2 separate regions of the Homo sapiens genome follow, and region 2 is linked to region 1. Evidence: promoter capture Hi-C in human tissues and cell types (Jung and others, 2019). All regions are on one chromosome and are shown on one strand. The core of a region is centred on a gene start or on the middle of the fragment in contact, and the rest is flanking DNA. Distances in the headings are between cores, read along the strand shown. Region 1 holds the start of FOXL1 (forkhead box L1). Region 2 has its middle 58 kb from the start of FOXL1.

Evidence for each region. Contacts are between HindIII fragments. The study calls those that stand out against the background at their distance.
Region 2: a contact is called between a fragment that was not itself captured here and the fragment with the promoter of FOXL1 in region 1, in 1 of the 25 tissues and cell types used here (IMR-90 fibroblasts).

The regions. Positions count from the first base shown.
Region 1 is chr16:86,576,181-86,581,075 of GRCh38, reverse strand. FOXL1 (forkhead box L1) reads right to left here and starts at 2,527. Exons shown (of 1, transcript NM_005250.3): 1 at 1-2,527. The coding sequence starts at 2,352. The coding sequence ends at 1,315. RefSeq lists an enhancer at 1,046-1,667. The HindIII fragment of the contact is 9,412 bases long and covers 663-4,895 here.
Region 2 is chr16:86,633,879-86,638,773 of GRCh38, reverse strand. No RefSeq gene overlaps it. Among named protein-coding and RNA genes, the nearest start is that of FOXL1, 58 kb to the right of the region's middle. The HindIII fragment of the contact is 7,055 bases long and covers 1-4,895 here.

The DNA.
Region 1 (4,895 bases), core at 1,278-3,777:
TCCCCAGACTGCCAGTCACCTCTTTAAGGTTTTGATTTAGTATCAGCCTCCAGGCCTGCCTGGCAGGGCTGGGAGGGAAGAGCGGGCGGCTGCAGGGGGTGCGGGGGCCAGGAGTGTCTGGGAGATTCCTGCCATCAAACCTCAGGTCCTCTGGGGCCCAGAGAGGCCCCTTCCAGCGGACACCAGCACGTCCCCTTATTCTTCCCCCGCATTCATCCCTCTCTCTCTCTGCATCTGCTTTTGGTTGTTTCACCCAACTTTTTAAATTAAATGTAGTCTTTCATTATCTGTTTCTGAAAAATATAGCGACCACCAAGCCTGGATCTTGAAAAAACATGGAAATCAAAACTCTGACATTGTCCAAGGCATATCCCCTTCCCCTCACACCCTTCCTCATGGTATCCCTTGAAATATTTTGATCCCTTAAAAACAAAAGCAAAAGGATAGGACGTCTGCTGTTGTGGCTTACATAGCTGCATGTGTATTGGCTAATGAGCTATCGTAATGCAAGAAGATGTTATATAGAGTGCACTTTCTTAATAAAAATTGTTAATACAAGCGTTTTCAAAGGTCAATGCTTAGAGTCAAGTATTTATGCAAAGAATGAAACATGTTCTTTTTACTACCCAGAAAGAAATTAAGAGAAAAAGTCTCTGTTTAAAATAAAAGTGTTATTGCTCTGGGTGGTTATCAGCTTCTATAGCTGAACATTGGTCATAAATCCTCATCGGGCCCTACATCTCTCAGAAAACCTGAAAACCCGGGGTCACCCCCGGCACCTCCACAACTTCAAGTCAGGAACAAACCCAGCTGTGACCACCCACCACCCAGATGGGCTCAAAACCAAGGCCTGAGCCACACGGCAACAGCGAAGCAGGCGACGGTCATACGGGGGTCCCCGGTCGAAAGGACCTCAACTGCACCTGTAAGGCCTGCCTTGGGTGGTCTGCGGGCCCTTGCATGCCCGGGACTCGCAGGACCTGCGGTGGGCGGCTGAAGACCACACTCCATTAGACAGGTCAAACGTCAAGGAATCTCCCGCGGTGGAGGTCCCTGCAGGGCCCACGTGCGGTGCCCACGACCCCGCGGGGATCTTTTAAGTCTCCGTAGCTGCTCCCAGTTGCTGGGAAAAGTTTGCTTCGGAGAAGGCAGGCGAGCGCGCCCACCTGCGCGCAATGGTTGGTAACACTTCCCTGAACCCACAGGCCGACCCAGGCAAAGATCATTTTAAAATCCTCCGCCGGTGGGAGCTGTGGCCTTTCGCTCAGCGGAGGCTCAGGCTGGGCCGGGAGAAGAACCGTGCCATTGTTTGCTTTACTGGAAGTGGAGTACCGTGTCGGGAACCTGCAGGGGGAAATAAGAGAGGAAGGGGATCCCGAGCTGGTAAAAGCCGCCCTGGACATGCGGGTCGAGCATCAGGGAAGCGTTGAAAGGCGGACGGAGGCTGGAGGAGGCGGCCAGGAGCGAGGCACCCAGACGGCCGCCGGGCCCAGGCTTGGCACCCCCTAGGAGTTCGTCCCCTGAAGGCGGCTTCTGGCCCTGCTTTCCCGCCAGGATGCTGTCTATGCTGAAGCTCTTGGACTTGTCGGAGCTCTTCGGAGAGCTGCGGGAGGCGGGGCGCAGAGGGGACCCCGGGCCGTCCCCTGTGCGCGCTGCCTGGCCGACCGCCACGGCCGCTGCGCCCTGGGCAGCGTCACCAGCGTCCTCGTTCGGGGACGCGGTCCCCGGCCAGTGGAGGGGCGCCGGCGGAGAGGGGCCGTCCAGGAGGGGCGAGGGGCCCGCGGGCGCTGCCTGCAGGCGGGAGATTGCGGGGCCCGAGCCCCCTGCCCCGCTCCCCGCCTCCGGCTGCGCCTCCGCGCTGCGCTGGTGCGTCTCGGCGCGGGGCCTCTTGGCCTCCGGGGCCCCGGGGCCCGGCTTGGGCTTCCTCTTCCGGCGCCGGTAGTTGCCGTTCTCAAACATGTCCAGGCAGCGGGGGTCCAGCGTCCAGTAGCTGCCCTTGCCCGGCCGCCCTTTCTCGCGGGGCACCTTGACGAAGCAGTCGTTGAGCGAGAGGTTGTGGCGGATGCTGTTCTGCCAGCCCTGCCGGTTGTCGTGGTAGAAGGGGAAGCGGTCCATGATGAACTGGTAGATGCCGTTGAGCGTGACCCTCTGCTCGGGCGCGTCCTGGATCGCCATGGCGATGAGCGCGATGTAGCTGTAGGGAGGCTTCTGCGGGGTCTCGGCCCGGCCCGAGGCAGCTAGAGCAGCCGCGGGGGCGAAGGCCAGAGGGAGGCCGGGTCTCTCGGGACCGTACAGATACAGCATGGGCGAGGCGGCCAGGGCAGGCAGCCGGGGATCGAAGAGGTGACTCATGGCAAGCGAGAGCCTGCGCTGCGCTCCCCGCAACGCAGGAGACCCGGGCGGCCTAGGCACTGCGCCCCGCGCCGCAAGGGCCCTCCCGGGGAGCCAGCCGTGCCTCTGCCTCTGGCTCTGCCGCTCTCCCCGGCCGCTCCGTGCTCTGTCCCTTCTTCATGGCTTTAAAAATGTTAAATAATTGTTGTAAGTTTGCTGTTATATGTTGACTTAGCCCTGGAAAATAAATTGTCTATGATAAACAGTCCTTGTGTTCTCAGCCCACCCACATTAATTAAAATTTCATTGCTGAAAAACTCCAAGCTTTTCCCTCCACGTGTCTTTTTGATACCAGCCAATCGGTTTTGGGGCTATTCCTTCATTTGTTTATAGAATTAGTCTGTTGATAAGTCCGCCCACCCAAGTTGAATCAAGCTGTGTTTATTTGGAAAAATTTCCGGGCACCCAATATATAAACGCACTGATCTGATGTTTGAAATATCACGTCCACCCCTTGACGCTGTAAGCACACACAGTCAGTGAGGCAGGATGTAGACTGCGGTGGCTCAGAGCAGGGTCTGCTGAGCCAGGAAGGAGAGGTGGAGATGGGGGTGGGTGTGCAGGGATGAGTTTTACGCTGGCCTGGGGGAGCCCCATAACGCCAGGGCCTCCCACAAAAGGTCTTTTCTTCTCCCAGGCTTAACCGGAGATATCGAGATGCCACAGTCTAGTAAAACACTTTCTGAGGTCCTAGGAACCTTTTAGATTGGGGCAGGGAGAGTATCTAAGAAGCCTGAGTGTCTGCTGAGAAGGGGATGCGGCCCTCCCTGGAAAAACAGGTGGCAGACCCAGTAGGAGGTGGCACTCTCTAGGGACCTGCTCTCCCACACCCTCCCTTCCAGGGCTCTCCGGAAATCGGAGGGAAAGTGGACTCTGGGAGCCCAGTCTCTCTGGAAGGGAAGGCCTAAGGCACTGGGGGCCTGGGGAAGAGCTCATGGTCCACAGCTCCATTGAGGAAGGTTTCAAAATAAACCCATTTAGAGAACCGGGGGCAAAAGTAAGGTCCTCCTGATGGGGCCAAGGTTGCAAGAGAGGAACACCATAAAAGGAGGCCGTGGCAGCTGGCGCGGGAGGCCTGGTATTTGTGAATGTGGGTCTCCAGCTTTATATTCTGGGCTTTCCTGTTTATAACAAGGAGGGGGTTATAACAACTTTACAAGTGCATGCAGCTGGCCCGTGATTACATTAGGCATTTGGGAAGCCTGCTTGCTCTCCCTGTATCCACCCACCCTGGGGTGTACGCGGCCCTCCACCCCCATCTCATTTTACATTTTCCCACATCACTGTTTGAATAAAAAATCCTGAATCATGCTGATTTCGAAGGGGGCCTCTCCTCCCCACTCCACCGGTTAGGGTAAGGGTAGAGGCACCTAGTGTGACTACTTCCTGTTTATGACCACCCCCTGAATATTAAAACACACACACACTGTCACACACACACCCACACACACACACACACATTCGGATAACTGGCGTCTCATTGAGCAAATCGTGTGAGCATGTCAAAGAGATGAGGGAAGGGGGAGGATGGCAGGTGGGTGTAGAAATGGCCCACTGCCAGTGGGCCAGGAAGGAGGGAGAGGCACCGAGGGCACTTACAGGGGTAGGGGGAGTGTCTGCCGCTGCCACACCCGGCTGAGGATGTGAGTGCCCAGGTAGCCTCTGAACACGGAAACGTGGCGGGCATCCTTTTTCAAAATGAGAAAATCAGAAATAACCCGTGTGTTTGGGGTTCCTGGGTATCCAGCCCATGGAATAAGTAGACCGCAGGGGAGCGGGTAAATTTAAAATACCAAAAAGGAAGTCGCAGGAAGGGTGGAAAAACCGGCCTGGGTACCGGCACTGCCTGCGGGAGCGACAGGCCAGTCCCTGGGACACCTCGGGCCTCCCTCCGCGGCCCTGCTCCTCTAACGTGGGTCCAGCGAGCAGCCCGGCCGCGCCCGCCTAGGTCCTGGGGGTGAACCTCTGGCCAGGAGGGGCGAGGCTTTGTCTTTTCGTTACCACTCGCTCTCACCCGCGTACCCCTTTCAAACTTGGGGTGAAGAAACCTCAATGCCAGCGCCTTTGCAACCCGCAGGCCCCACAGTCTCTGGGGTCACCCAACCTCTCCGGGGCCGCGCGCCCCCAGCAAGCTCAAGTTTGGATCCAGTTCCTTCTCCAGCCTCGGCGCTCGCTCCAACACACCCAGACCGAGAGATAAACCGGTGTCACTATGCAACCCTTTCCCCACCTTCCTATCCCACAGCCCCTCCTGGAGCTCCCCACGCGGCACCCGAAGTCCAGCACGCACATCCCTGCCTCTACCGAAACTCCCGCCGTCCCGGCGCGTCTTCTAAACTCTAAGGCAAATCCGAGCTTGAATTTGTACGGTGATAAATACTGCCCGATTTGGTAATGGGCGGGACGTGGGCGGAGACACGGGAGGCTGGTGGGCGGGGCACCGATAGTAAAGCAAAAAAAAAAAAAAAAAAAAGAGAGCGAGAAAGAGACAGAGAGAGATTAGG
Region 2 (4,895 bases), core at 1,378-3,877, 58 kb before region 1:
ACTCAGACACATAACTGCCCTCGCCCAAGGCCCAAGGCCACACAGGAGCAGAGCCAGGGCTCAAATCCAGTCTGTCTGACTCCATCGCTCTACACCCGTTGCATTGTCTTTACCTTTCTTCTAAATAAACCTCATTAAACCTTCAACCTCATTAAACCTTCAAAGTTAGGCTCTGCCCCCTCCAGGCAGCTGCTCTCAGGGAGGCAAAGAGACCTAGCCCTGACTCCCGTGACTGTCTAGTGGGAAAAACACCCAAGCATCCACCATGAGACTCCTCAGCTCTTCAGCATCCCGGCTTTGAAGAGAACTCTTAGTCATCCTTCAAAATCCAACCCAATTAGCCCCTCTTTTATGTAGCCTCCCATGACCCTTTCAAATACTGCCTGGTTTCCAAACTCACTGCACTTTCTTCACCTAAAGCATGTCCATGTCCTGGGAGTTTTCATTCTGCTTCAACACCTCCTCCATCTGTCAATCCATTATCATGTACTGAACACCTAACTGGCCTTTTGCTGGGTATGGCAGGGGACAGAACACCCACTATCCAGGCCCTGCCCTTGAGGAGCTCACCACTTAAGTAAGGAGATCAGACACACATGTATTTTGTACAGTGCATAGAAATAGCCAGCAACTCTCCCTCTCTTTTTTCACCTGAACAGCTCCTGGTCATTCTGCAGACACAACTTTGAGATCACTGATTCCCAGCAGCCTCCCCTGACCCCCAGGAAGAAGTGTCCCTTCTCCATGGCCCCGTATCACTTTATCTCTTCCCTGCCTGTTTCTCTCCTCCACAGTCCCCACCCTTCCACCCCCAGATTCTGCTAAGCTCCTCCGGACAGGTGCTGTGACATTTTTAAGATTCTGTGGGATGCAAATTGGAGAAACCAAACAAGCTGGCTTAAAGATAAAAGGGGGAAGTTATCAGAAAGGTCTGGTGGTGTCTTATGGAACCTGGAGTCACAGGGTGCAGGGAATCAGAATTAGCAGCTAGAAGGAGTTAGGAAAGCCAGGCTGCATTCTCTCCAAACCTTGTGTCTCTGTCTTTTCAGTGTTTTCCTTCTCTCTCTCTCTCTCTCTCTCTCCCTCCCCAGAGCTCATGGTCCCAGTGGCAGGACGTCCGTTATGCAGGTCCAGCAGTATGGAGTTGCTCCTGCTCCTGCCCCTCCACATCCCCAGGGAACAGATGCTTCTGGCAGGTTGGTGTTGGATGAACATGAAGTCCTGGCCCAGCAAACCATGAAGCTGAGCTGAGGTGAGCCTGGCAAAGCCCAGAAGCTGTACGTGTTCCCTGGCTCCTCTTTTCCATGCATTTGCTTGGGCAGCGACTCTTTGGAGTCACTGTCACTCCTCAGTGTCCCCATTAGTGCAGGGGCTATGGCCAAGTTGCTCAGAGCTTCCTGGGTTGTGTCTGTGAAGAGCCTGCTGCCTGTCGGGTGTTGGTCCCAGAGGTCTGAGCTGGGGTGGGTGGGGTCCATGGGCCATGGCTGCTCCTCAGGGATCCTGCAGATGCTGAGTGGATGGCATCCCCTGGCAGAGGTCACACTGAGAGGAGGTGACAGGGGAGCCTCTCCACCTGGAGTCACAGGCTGCAGGAAAGAGGAGCACACTTCACAATATAAAGCCACCCCCACTGCAACTTGGGCCCAGAAAGCCTGCCAAAACCAGGGATGCTGCTCCAGGTCCTGTTACATCCACTCTGCAGAAAAGACACATTCCTCAGTGGATTGACTGCCCCAGGAGCACAGGGACCTGGCAGTTCTGGTAAGTGCCACCTTGCTGATCCAGAGCCCTCATCCTCAGGCTTTGCTCTCCATCCATTTGGAAAGCAAATCCACTCTAGGCACTGCCACCAGAGGGATTGAATACAGGGATTTGGTTGCACTGGGGATGGAAGAGCTAGGGGCCATGGAGGGACCTGTGAGGCAGTCAAGATACTGGCAAGAGCAGCAAGTCCAAGGCAGGCTATTCCTCTGGCCCAGAGCCAGGTGGGCTGCCCAGCAAAGGCAGGACAGGGAGGTTATCCCCAGGGAGCTGGAAGCACAGAGGAGACTCAGAGGGAACGAGGAGGTGTAGGTAGCTGCTCTTCCATGTGCCACCCTACCTCCTGTTGACCCAGTGCTTCCCATGAGTGAGACCTGGGCAGGAGCCAGTATGCAGGGGACACTGGCAGTGTTTTCAGAGAAGAGCAGGGCCTGGGTCTGAGGACAATCCCATGTTCTGCCCCACCCCCAGCTAAAGGAGGAGAAGTTACCTTCCTCCAGACGGGCCCACCTCCTTCGCCTACACCTCCCTTCCCTCTTCCTTTCTCAGAAGGGCCGCCTGAGGACCCTAAGCCTCCTTCTGCCCCTCCCTCTTCTTCAAGGCAGCTGGCAACCTCCCTCTCTATAAAAAAGAAGGGGAAATGCATGAACACGTGGAACGTGATAAAATACGCTGTTTATTTCCATGTGATTAGTCTGATCATTTCCTACTAAACCACTCCTTTCTTCCATAAAGTTCAGCCTCGTCTCAGAAAGATGAACAAGAGTACTTTACGCTGTATAAAAATCTGTATAGTAATCCCACAACCCCTAGATCATGATGCAGTGGCCGAGCCTGTGCCAGAAATGGACCACCAAGCCCCCCAGAACGCGTGGGCGAGCGTGCAATCATGCGGCACAGCTGGCGGGCCACAGTGTGGCTCTGCCACAAGCTCCATTTCCCATCCTTCCAGAGCCGCCACGGCCTCCTTTTTGCATAGTTTGAAAGTTGGCTTCCCTGGATGGGGTTCAGACATCTATACATTTTTATCAGCACTTAAAAAATGGAAGTTAAAAGTCTAATGGGATTGCTGAGTAGAGATTGAACGGTTCCAGGGGAGGAAGTAATACAGGATAAAAAGGGGGTGTTCAGTTTCAAAGGCTTGTGATAGAAAGTTGGAGAAAGCTTGTATAGAAAGCACTTGTCCTCAGAGTGCCAGATTTTATTATGGATATCTGGTCAGAAAAAGAAATGAACACGTCAAGTAGAAAAAGAAATTCGGGTGACCAAGGACTTTCATCATGGGAGGAAATATTTAACTAAGTGCATTATTCATTTTGCATTGACTTAAGTGCCAGGGGCCTTAGCTCATAGTGGGGGGCTGGCAGGAACGCACAGGCTCGGCTCAGCTCTGCACTTACACGTTTTTTCTCTTTTGTAATCTCGGTTAAAGAGTTCTGCTTCTTTGGGGTCTTTTGGCTGAGAGCAAATACTCCGTCTTCTCTGGGGAAACTCTGCCTTTGCTTGACAGAAAAATGGAAATGGTAACCTAATAGAGCCTGCTTTTCTCTGGTTACCAGGATTTTAGTGTGCCTTTAATCTCCATTGAATTACCAAGTCCCCTGGGATTGGGTGGGCGGTCTTTGAGTCAGTGAAAACTTCACAGTGGTTTTGGCAGGCCTGCTATTTCTTGCCTCTCCATTGCGGACCCTGTGAGTGAGCCATTCTTGAAATCAGACAAAAAAGCCTCACTTTTGCTTTCTGACAGTGACATACAACAGTGACTTCTCTTTCCTATTTGATGTGTTTCAAAATGCAGTAGTTACTGCAAACTATTTCCCTAATTGATCTGGAATGCAGACTAATTCCTGTGCCTTGAATTCGCCCATGCGTCTCAAATTTGAAAATGGTTTCATACGTTTAAGACCAGCCTTACTAGGACTGCAATTTAATTTTGTTTAACAAGCAGACCCAAAAAAGAAAAAAAAAAAAAAAAAGCGGAGGAAGATGACAAACTCTAACCAGGTTGTAAATGTTGACGAAAAATCCCACAAACATCTTGGTAATGATCATTGGAAAGATAACAAAACTGGAAGTGTTTTCTGAGATACTGCCTGCCAGGCCCCATGCTAAGTATCTTCCATACTGAATGCATTGGCTTTTCCGAAAATCTAGGTGAGGTGGGCATCAACGCTCAAAAATAAGTTCACAGAGATGCACAGAAGTGATGTAGCTTGTTCAGGCTTACACAGACAATAAGAGGTTGACCTAGGACAAAGTTCTCTTTGTTTGAGATTCACTAAAATCTGATTCACTTGTGAATATACAATTTATGGCTATATCTAGAGATGCTGTTTAATGCAGTGCTGATGACACAGCTTGGATTCAAGGACCACCATACCAAATGCTTCTAGCTGAGTGGAAAGTAAGAAACAGCACCCAATTTCTTCTTCCCACTTATCCATCACAAAGTCCTGTTCCTTGGCTTAATTCTGATGCTGAATGCATCATTTCCATTCATATCCCATTGGCCAGCAATTCATCACATGACCACATATAGCCACACAGGAGGCTGGGAAATGTAGTCCTTAGCTGGGCAGCTGTGTACCCAGCTAAGACATTAGGATTCTACTACTAAAGGAAAGGGCAAAGTGGATACTGGGTAACAATGAAGTATGTTCGCTACACCCTTACTCACCACTGTGTACCTCCCTCTATCCCAGCCTCTAGTCTTTAAGCCTTGAATGAATAAACTCGCCTGTCAAAAGTTGCCAACCTGTGGTAAAAACCCCACCACTATTCCAAGCTCCTGCTTGTTCCAACATTAGATGTAGACATTCTCTTATCAGCATAGGTCAGGCAAATGTTAGTTTCCCCATTTACAATTGAGGGTTGGAATCTCATGCTCCCCTATTTCCTTACTAACAGGGCCCCAATTTTGTCTTGAGTCATGACATAGCATCATTCCTCTCTACAGAAGAATTCTAAGTCATATATGTCAATACTCTCCCTCAAGGAAGTGGAGCTTAATCTCTCCTTTGAGGGTGAACTAAACTTAATGGGTTGCTTCCAAAGAACAGAGTGTGGACAGAGAATGACAGGAGCATTGCAGAGGAGAAATCTGGCATACAATACGGTAACCAAGTGACCGAGTT